Linked DNA regions of Homo sapiens: region 2 is linked to region 1. The links are contacts of gene promoters, found by promoter capture Hi-C in blood cells and fetal thymus (Javierre and others, 2016). All regions are on one chromosome and are shown on one strand. Each heading gives the region's core, a stretch centred on a gene start or on the middle of the fragment in contact. The rest is flanking DNA. Distances are from core to core; before and after follow the strand shown.

What was found. The method cuts DNA at HindIII sites, captures the fragments that hold promoters and counts their contacts. A CHiCAGO score of 5 or more calls a contact.
Region 2: a contact is called between a fragment that was not itself captured here and the fragment with the promoter of ALG8 in region 1, in 4 of 17 cell types (total CD8 T cells, naive CD4 T cells, non-activated CD4 T cells and 1 more). The highest score is 6.9, in total CD8 T cells.

What each region holds. Positions count from the first base shown.
Region 1 is chr11:78,136,925-78,141,534 of GRCh38, forward strand. It overlaps ALG8 (ALG8 alpha-1,3-glucosyltransferase), which reads right to left and starts at 2,702. Exons shown (of 13, transcript NM_024079.5): 1 at 2,570-2,702. The coding sequence starts at 2,664. KCTD21-AS1 (KCTD21 antisense RNA 1) reads left to right here and starts at 2,869. Exons shown (of 3, transcript NR_102281.1): 1 at 2,869-3,148. RefSeq lists enhancers at 2,285-2,394, 2,475-2,554, 3,165-3,274, 3,435-4,145. The HindIII fragment of the contact is 5,506 bases long and covers 2,433-4,610 here.
Region 2 is chr11:78,190,166-78,194,775 of GRCh38, forward strand. All of the region lies in intron 1 of USP35 (ubiquitin specific peptidase 35), which reads left to right. Among named protein-coding and RNA genes, the nearest start is that of USP35, 3.6 kb to the left of the region's middle. The HindIII fragment of the contact is 2,706 bases long and covers 939-3,644 here.

The DNA.
Region 1 (4,610 bases), core at 1,452-3,951:
GAGTTTCACTCTTGTTGCCCAGGCTGGAGTGCAATAGCGCGATCTCAGCTCACTGCAACCTCCACCTCCCGGGTTCAAGTGATTCTCCTGCCTCAGCCTCCCAAGTACCTGGGATCACAGGCATGCTCCACCACGCCCAGCTAATTTTGTATTTTTAGTAGAGACGAGATTTCTCCATGTTGGTCCTCAGGTGATCCGCCCGTCTTGGCCTACCGAAGTGCTGGGATCACAGGCATGAGCCACCGCGTCCGGCCGATGGCTTCTTTTCTTAAAAGAACCTCTGCTAGCTTCCAAATTTTCTTCTGCAACTTCCTCACCTCTCTTAGGCTTCAAAGAATTGAAGACTTAGGGCCTTGCTCTGGATAAGGTTTTGGCTTAAGGGAATGTTATGGCTGGTTTGATCTATCCAGACCACTAAAACATTCTCCATATCATCAAGGTTGTTTCACTTTCTTATCACTTGTGTATTCACTGGAGTAGCACTTTTAGTTTCCTTCAAGAACTTTTCCTCTGCACTCACAACTTGGCTGTTTGGCACAATGGGCCTAGCTTTCAGCCCGTCTTGGCTTTCAGGATGCCTTCCTCATCAAGCTCAATCATTTCTAGCTTTTGATTTAAAGTCAGAGATATGTGACTCTTCCTCTCACTTGAACACTTAGATGCCACTGTAGGGCTATTAATTGGCCTAACTTTATTATTGTATCTCAGTCAACAGCAAGGCCTGAGGAGAGGGAGAGAGATGATGGAACAGCTGGTTGATAGAGCAGTCAGAACACACAGCATTTATTAAGTTCACCATAGTGTTGCCCCAAAGCAATCAGAATAGTAGTATCAAAGATCACTGATTACAGATCATAACAAATATAATAGCAATGAAAAAGTGTGAAATATTTCAAGATTTACCAAAATGTAACACAGACACAAAATGAGCACATGATGTTAGAAAAATGGCATTGATAGAGTTGCTCAATGGAGAGTTACCGCAGCCTTCAATTTGTAAAAAAAATGAAAATGCAGTATCTGTGAAGTGCAATAAAGCAAAGTACAAAAAATGAGGTATTCCTGTACATGTGCTGCCAAAGTGAGCGCTATATACATTCTTAACCTGGACCAAGAGCAGTATTCAAAATAACAACTCTGGCCAGGCACGGTGGCTCATGCCTGTAATCCCAACATTATGGGAGGCCGAGGCAGGTGGATCACTTGAGGTCAGGAGATTTGAGATCAGCCCTCCGCCATCATGGTGAAACCCCATCTCTACTAAAAATACAAAAATTAGCCTGGCGCGGTGGTGCAAGCCTGTAATCCCAGCTACTCCGGAGGCTGAGGCAGGAGAATCGTTTGAACCCGGGAGGCAGAGGTTGCAGTAAGCTGAGATCGTGCCACTGTACTCCAGCCTGGGTGACAGAGTGGGACGAGACTGTCTCAAAAAAAAAAAAAATAACAAACAAAAAAAACAACTCTGAGGATACATTTCTAGCCTGAGGCAACTAAAGCAAGAAATAATCTTATGCACAGACCTACAGTTAATCATTTTACTGAATCTACATATACATTCCACTTACATGATTACATATACGCATCAGTATGGACTTACATTCTATACATATGACTCTCCCATATTCAACAAGAGATCACCAAGAGCCTGAATCAAAGGATACCAATAAAACAAACCCTAAACTAGGAAGTGGGAGGGAAAGGAGAAAAGGGATGAGGGAGAAAAAGAAAAAAGAGGAAGGATGAAGGGAAGGCGGAAGCCAATATTAATAAATACTGAGTACCTACTGTATACACACCACCATTTCATGGTTGCTTCTTGGTTTCCACGCTTTCAGTCTTGGCCCTACATCCATTTTTTACACAGCAGTCTAACTGTGGTCTTCGAAACCCTGTGTTATCTGTCCCCAGTGCACCCCATGCTGTGCCACTCCTCTCCCTCAATGCTCTGCAGCCACAAGGGGCACTTTCTGTTCCTAGAATGCTCTGACTTCTTTCCTGCCACAGGGCCTTTGAACTTACTCTTTCCTATGCCTGAACTGCTTTCCACATCACTTATTCTTTTTCATTTTTTGAATTTCAACTCAAACATCACCTTCTAAAGGAATAGCGCACAGCCACTTAGTAACCCTCTATTTCCTTTATCACAATCTGAAAAGTTCCTGTTTGTCTAGCTCCACCCACCAACTTCGAGGGCAAGGACCAGCAATGTCTTGCTCACCACCGCATCTCCCGGGAGTTAGAACGGTACCTGGCACCTCAGGCATCTGATAATACTGGCTGAATGGCTGTTGGAGGCAGAGGTTCTTAACTGCCTATTAAGGATGAGGACCCTGAGGTTCAGAAACGTTAAAGTGATTTGTTCCAAATCAGACAGCGCCAGGTCTGAACCTAGCCAGCTGGGGCTAAGTCAAGTAACAACTGGCGAAACAGAAAGCTTAGCAAAGGCAGGATAGCGACAAACACGACCTAAAGTTTTCTCTTCATACCCAGGGATATCCACACCTTTCTCTCCCGCCCTGACCGACCGCGGGGCCTCCCCGCCCAGCCCCTGGCCGTGCGAGTCCCTTACTATGTGGGGATGAGAAGGCATTTGAGAAGAGTCACCCCGAGCGCCAAAGCCGAAAACCAATTGCCAGTACCCGTGGCAATTGTGAGCGCCGCCATTGCTGCGGCACCGCACGCTTCCCACCAACTTGATCCACATCCGGGATCCCGCGCATGCGGAGAAAGCCCTCTGAAGCCGTGCCCGCTAGCTGCGCGCATGCGGCGAGCGGCGCAGCCAGTCCGGGGACTGCAGTCAGCTATTTAAACCTCCCGCCCACCTTTTCTTTAGACCCGCGTCTCACCCCGGGCCGGAAGGGCTCCTGCGCAGGCGTTTGTAGCCACTTTTAAGTTTTATCAGCTAGTTCATGCTTGCGTTGAAAGAGTGGTCGTTTGCGCTGGGTCATCACTGTGTAGTATTGGGGATACTTAGGTGAGAAAAAAACTTAACGCTAGAGACGTTCACGCACTAGTGGAGAAGCCAGGATTGTTGCCCTAGAGTTACAGTAGATAAAAGTACCTCAGAGAACTGCGGGGGCTCCCAACCTGGACGCTTGCACCGGAGTATTAAATCCAGCTAGAGAATGGCATGTGCAAAGATACAGAGGTGAGAAACATTGTGTTTTTAGAACTCTGAGCGAGGCTCTTGGCTCACCTCCTGCTTGAGCGGAACCCATTCTGGAAGCAGGGTAGAGGCTAGTCCTAACGCTTAGTGTACAAATAGCCTACGGTTCATGTTAAAATAATTCGGATTCTGATTCAGTAGGCCCAACAAACTCGCAGATTGCGTAATGACTGAGGCACATGCAATTTAATTAGGCTTGTCTCATTATTTTACTGTATGATCTTGGACAAACTAAACTCTAAACCTCAGTTTCTTTTTTTAAAATTTTTATTTATTTATTTATTTTTGAAAATAGGAGATAAAAATGGTTTCTGGCCGGACGCGGTGGCTCACGCCTGTAATCCCAACACTGGGAGGCCGAGGTGGGCGAATCACCTGAGTTCAGGAGTTTGAGATCAGCCTGGCCAATATGGTGAAACCCTGTCTCTACTAAAAATTAAAAAAAAATTAGCCGTGCATGGTGGCGGGCGCTTGTAATTCCACCTACTCGGGAGGCTGAAGCTAGAGAATCGCGTGAACGTGGGAGGCGGAGGTTGCAGTGAGCTGAGATCGCGCCATTGCACTTCAGCCTGGGCAAGCCTCAGGCCTGTTTATCCAAGATGCTTTTGGTCTAAAAAAAAAAAAGTTTCAGCCTCATAAACTGGTTGTGAGGATTAAATGAGAATGCATGTAAATTGCTTGATATGATTCCAGGACAGAATAAATGCTCAATAATGTGTCAGATCAGTTAATTATCTTGCTGAAAGATGCACAGCAAGTAGGTGACAGTGTCACCTCCCTAATATGAGTTTATGCCCTCCCACAGCTTCAGCTGCCACCCATGTGAATATGATTCACAGATTTCTAGCTCAGCACTCTTCTCTCACTTTCAGACCCTGGTCTCCAGTTGGCTACCTGACCTCACGTAGATGTTTTTGTTTTGTTTTTGAGAGACAGGGTCTCATTCTGTGGCCCAGGCTGGAGGGCAATAGTGCAAACACAGCTCACTGCAGCCTCGATCTCCTGGGCTCAAGCAGTCCTCCCCACCTCAGCCTCCTGAGTAACTGGGACCACAGGGATGTGGCAACGTGTGTGTGTGTGTGTGTAGAGATGGGATCTCCCTATATTGTCCATGCTGGTTTCAAACTCCTGGGCTCAAGTGATCTTCCTGCCTCAGCCTCCCAAAGTATTGGGATTACAGTTGTGCGCCACCATGCCCAGCTACTTAGATGTTTTAAAGGCACTTTGCATTAATTTTCTATTTCTGCTGTAAGAAATTACCATAAACTTAGTAGCTTAAAACAACACAAATTTATTCTCTTACAGTTCTGTAAACCAGAAATCTAAAATCAGTCACTGGAGTAAAGTCAAGGTGTCATTTGGATTGGTTGCTTCCAGAGGCTCTGCAGGGAGATTGTTTTTCTTGTCTTTTTCAGCTTTTAGAAGTTGCCTGCATTCCTTGGCC
Region 2 (4,610 bases), core at 1,042-3,541, 53 kb after region 1:
CCATGAAGCCTTCTTCTCAGGTCCTAGGAGATTCTGTGAGCTTTTGACCTGAAGGCTAACCAGGAACAGATTTTTGTTTTGTTTTGTTTTGTTTTTGTTTTGTGCTTTTTCTTTTGCTTTGGTTGTTTGAACAATTTCTAGAATGGCTAAAGCCTCAGTCCAGTCCAGTGACCTCTGTAGGGGCTTTCTTGACTGATGTTTAAGATTTTCAGGGTTTTTGATATGCAAGACCAGGCCTGGGCAAAGGAGGGGGTGGTGACTGGACCAAAGGTTAGGCCAGTTTCTGGAAGGTACTTTTGTGGTTACATCTTTGGTTTTCTCTCATCTTGCTGTCACATGTCTCTCATGAGTTGCTTGACGCACCTTCACGGACACCTCAGTCCTTGGTTCTGTACTGGGCACTGGGCTCAGAGACGGGGATTGGACCTCTGCCAAGGGAGGTCCCAGCCTGGTGGGAGACAGAGACATGGATTCCAGTTATGCTGCAGAGGGATGAGAATAGCTAAGAGGGCCTTGGAGGCCAGAACTTTAGACACTTGAATTGTGGAGGGAAAAGGAAAGGCTTCCCAGAGGAGAGGGCATGTGAGCTGGGCATTGAAGGGTGAGTCAGAATTTTCCAGGAGAGAAGAGGGAAAAGCCCTTTTTCAGTAGAGGGGACATTGTGCAAAGTAGCAGTCAGGAAAAAGCCCCCTGCTCCAATGTCTGCAGAGTCTCCACTGAACAATGTTGCTTGAGTTCATCTCCACCCCTGCCCCACATCAGCTGAGTGTCACAGAAAGGGCTTGCATGTCCGGCTCAGGAGTTTGGACCTTATTCTGGGTCCAAGGGGCTGGAGAGTGTTGAGAGTTCTGAGCAGGGGCATGGACGGAATGGTGCTTACCGTGTAATAAGCTCCATCTGACGATGCTGCATCTGGAGAGACCAAGGAGGGATGATGAAGCTTGAGCGGGGGCCCAGGGCGTGGCAGTGGGGCTGAGCATAGGAGTTGTGTACACACACATACACACACACACACAGGGTGCTTTGGGGTGATGGAGATAAGTCAGGCTCAACTGTGCAGGAGCAGAGATCAGTCAACACTCGGCAGAAATGTTGAGGGTCATCCGAGAGGAACAGGTGAAAGGATCTGGGCCTTTTGGCAGAGGGATTGGGATTTTCCTGAGTGCTCACTGCGTGCCTTGGAGTGTGCTGGTGTTGCTGGGACGCCCCTCAGGCTGTCATGCCAGTAGGGCGAGGGGTATGAGGCAAGGGCTTGGGAGGAGCAGCAGCGCTGGCTGGGAAAGGCTAAGGGGTGGGCACGTAGTCACCTTCTATTTGGGCATTCCGAGGATCACAGAGGTAAAAGAACACCTACCTCCATGGTGGCTGGGCTAGACTCGAAGCCTGGACTCTGTTCTCCTCTAGGACACATGCCTCTGTTGGAGGATGGATTGAGGGAGGGAATTGGGAGATGGGTTAGGAGGCTACTGCACTAGTCCAGGCAAGAAGTCAAGGGGTCTGATCCTGGGTGGGGCTGGGAACACCGAAGTGGCAGGGAGGGCTAATGGAGGAAATGCCTTGGAGAATCAGCAGGATCAGCAGTGCGTGTCTCCTTGTCTCCTTTCCCTGACAGTATCTGTGTCTCCCATCAGTGCCAGGTGGCCCAAAAATAGACTCATGACAGCCCGGCCCTCATCTTTTTTTTTTTTTTTTTTTTGAGACGGAGTCTTGCTCTGTCCCCCAGGCTGGAGTGCAGTGGCATGATCTCGGCTCACTGCAAGCTCCGCCTCCTGGGTTCACGCCATTCTCCTGCCTCAGCCTCCTGAGTAGCTGGGACTACAGGTGCCCGCCACCACGCCCGGCTAATTTTTTGTATTTTTAGTAGAGATGGGGTTTCACCGTGTTAATGAGGACCTCATCTTTTTTATACCTTGTCTCAACCCTGTGAATGGTAGGCTTGGAATAGTCCCCATTTTCCAGATGAGAAGGCTAAGAAGCCAGGCAGGGGCTCACCCAAGGTCACCATGACTTTGAAGCAGAAAACCTGTATCTTCAGCTTTTAACACAGGCTCTCCTCGGGGAGGACATGGCTGCTGTTTGCTGCTGCGGTTGGTGCGGGGCAGCTGTCTCTTGAGTCAGAGCCAGCATGGACAGGCCATCTCCTCACCCGGGGCTTAGCAGGCTAATCCAGCCCTCCTGAGGGAGGCAGAGTGCAGGTTCTAATCCTGCTTTGCCAAGGCCATGTTCCTCTCTCTGAGCCTCACTTTCTTCATTCCTGCCAGTGGGATAGCTGGCCTTGTCCTCCCTTCCCTGGCCTGATGGGGCCAGGTGAGGTGCAAGCCTCTAAAACCCTTTTGTCTGAGTGCATGCAAGATATTGAGTGGGTTTGCTGGTGACCATGGTGACAGCTGTCCTCAGACTGCCTGCGTGGGAGTTGGGGCAGGTGGGCAGGGCTTGCTTGCTGTGGCCAGGCTACGGACTGAGCAGAGGCTGCCGGCTGGCCTTGGAGATCAGAGCTCTCATGGAGCAGCTCTATTTGAACTGTCAGCTGCCAGGCTTATGTGGTGTTAGGTAGAACAACATGAAATTGCCAACATTTGATCATTCGGTTTCATGCGGTTCAGTCTAATAGCATTTGTCCCCATTTTACAGAAAAGAGGCTCATGGGTATGATTTACTGAGGGTCACACAATGAGTCAGGGCTAGAATGTAGGACTCCTCATTCCTAGTCTGATACTCTTTCTACTCTTTCTAGTACTCTTTCTACTACCAGAGTCTTCCCTGTCTCCAGAACTCCATTTCTGCCTGCCCCCATGCCCTCTTGCTTCACACATGATGCCAGTGCCTCATGGATTAGGGTTTCTTCTTGGCTGCCTGAGTACCAGGATTTCTTGGCATCCTGGGTTGAAAGCATATGAAATCCACTAGCCATCCCAGGGGTCTGGGAGGATGGACTGTTTGTGTGGGGGAGGTTGGCCACAGCAACTGCCTTGTCACGGGCACTGCCTAGAAAGGGGACCAGGGCTGAAGGGAGAGTTAAAAAAATTTTTTTTCTTTTTTCTTTTTTGAAACAGGAACTCACTTAGTCACCCAGGCTGGAGTGCAGTGGCGTGATCTCAGCTCACTGCAACCTTCGCCTCCCAAGCTCAAGTGAGCCTCCTGTCTCAGCCCCAACTAGCTGGGACTGCAGGTGTGAGACACTACGCCTGGCTAATTGATGTAATTTTTTTTTTTTTTTTTTGTAGAGATGGGGTTTTGCCATGTTGCCCAGGCTGGTCTCAACCTCCTGAGCTCAAGCCATCTCCCCACCTCGGCCTCCCAGAGTGCTAAGATTACAGACATGAGCCACTGTGCCCAGCTGGGAGACCAGTTTTTAAAGACACTTTATAGGCCTTTTGAGATTATACCTTGCAGGGGCACCCTTACAAACATTTCTGCCTCCCCCATCTGACTGGAAGCTCCTTCAAGGCAAGGACTTTGCTTCTGAAGCAACAGGAGTTGACATTTTCTGAGAACTTCCTTGTGCCCAGCTCAGAGAGCCTAAGTAACCTTTATGGGAACCAGAATGTATCCCAGATGAGCCACATTCAAAGAGTCAAAAACAACAACAACAACAACAAAACCCAGAATCGAACACATCATTTCCCTCATTTCCTCATTCAGGAAGCTTCGGGTGGACCCTGAACTTTTTCTTTTCTTTTTTTGAGACAGGGTCTCACTCTATCACTTAGGCTGGAGTGCAGTGGCACGATCTTGCCTTACTTCACCCTTGACCTCCTGGGCTCGCCACCACCCTTGGCTGGTGTTGAACTCCTGGGCTCAAGTGATCTGCCTGCCTTGGCCTCCCAAAGTGTTGGGACTACAGGCGTGAGCCACCGCGCCCGGCCGCATCTGAGCTTGTAGCAGGTGCCCAGGTGCTTCTGAGGCATTCTGAGGCTTCTGAGCAGGCCAGGATTTGGGAACCACTGATGTCTGCCATGGTTACAACCTCTAACCAACAGTGAACTCTTAAGAGGCACACACTCTTGGCATGAGAGATGCTAGCCACAGACTAATAAACCCTGGTCCTTTCCTGGTGGAGCTCAGCCTGGTGAGAGAGACAGATATTTAAACAAATGGGCCCTTTGTATCGTAACACGTGCAGCAATGGAGGTTAGGTCACAGCTGAGAACTAGAACAGAGCAGGGAGCTCACTGGGTCTAGTACATAGTTGGGGTTCCAGAATATCTGTGATTCTGAATAAAACTTTCCAGCTTATTATCCCAGAAATTTAAGGCTTGTCCACACTCTAGCTCCAGTTCTCAGGCATAAGAGTAGTTTTTACTGAGCCCATAAGTTTAAACACCTGTTGTCTGCTGAGTCTTATATCAGGTCCTGCCTAGATTGGGCATCGAAGCAAAGAAATGGTTCTGCGCTCCAGGAGAGGCATTACGTGTTAGATGTTAAGAGAGCAAGCTGTGCCCATGTGAACCTGCATGAGAGGGCTCAAAGTGGGTTGGTGTGGGACAAAGTCTTCAGGAAACAGGCCAGGTGGAGGAGAAGGGCAGAAGGAAGGCTATTATGGCTCAGAGGAGTAAGGTAGAGATGACTCACACTGCACCCTGCATTTGCTCATCCAGCAAATGCCTGTC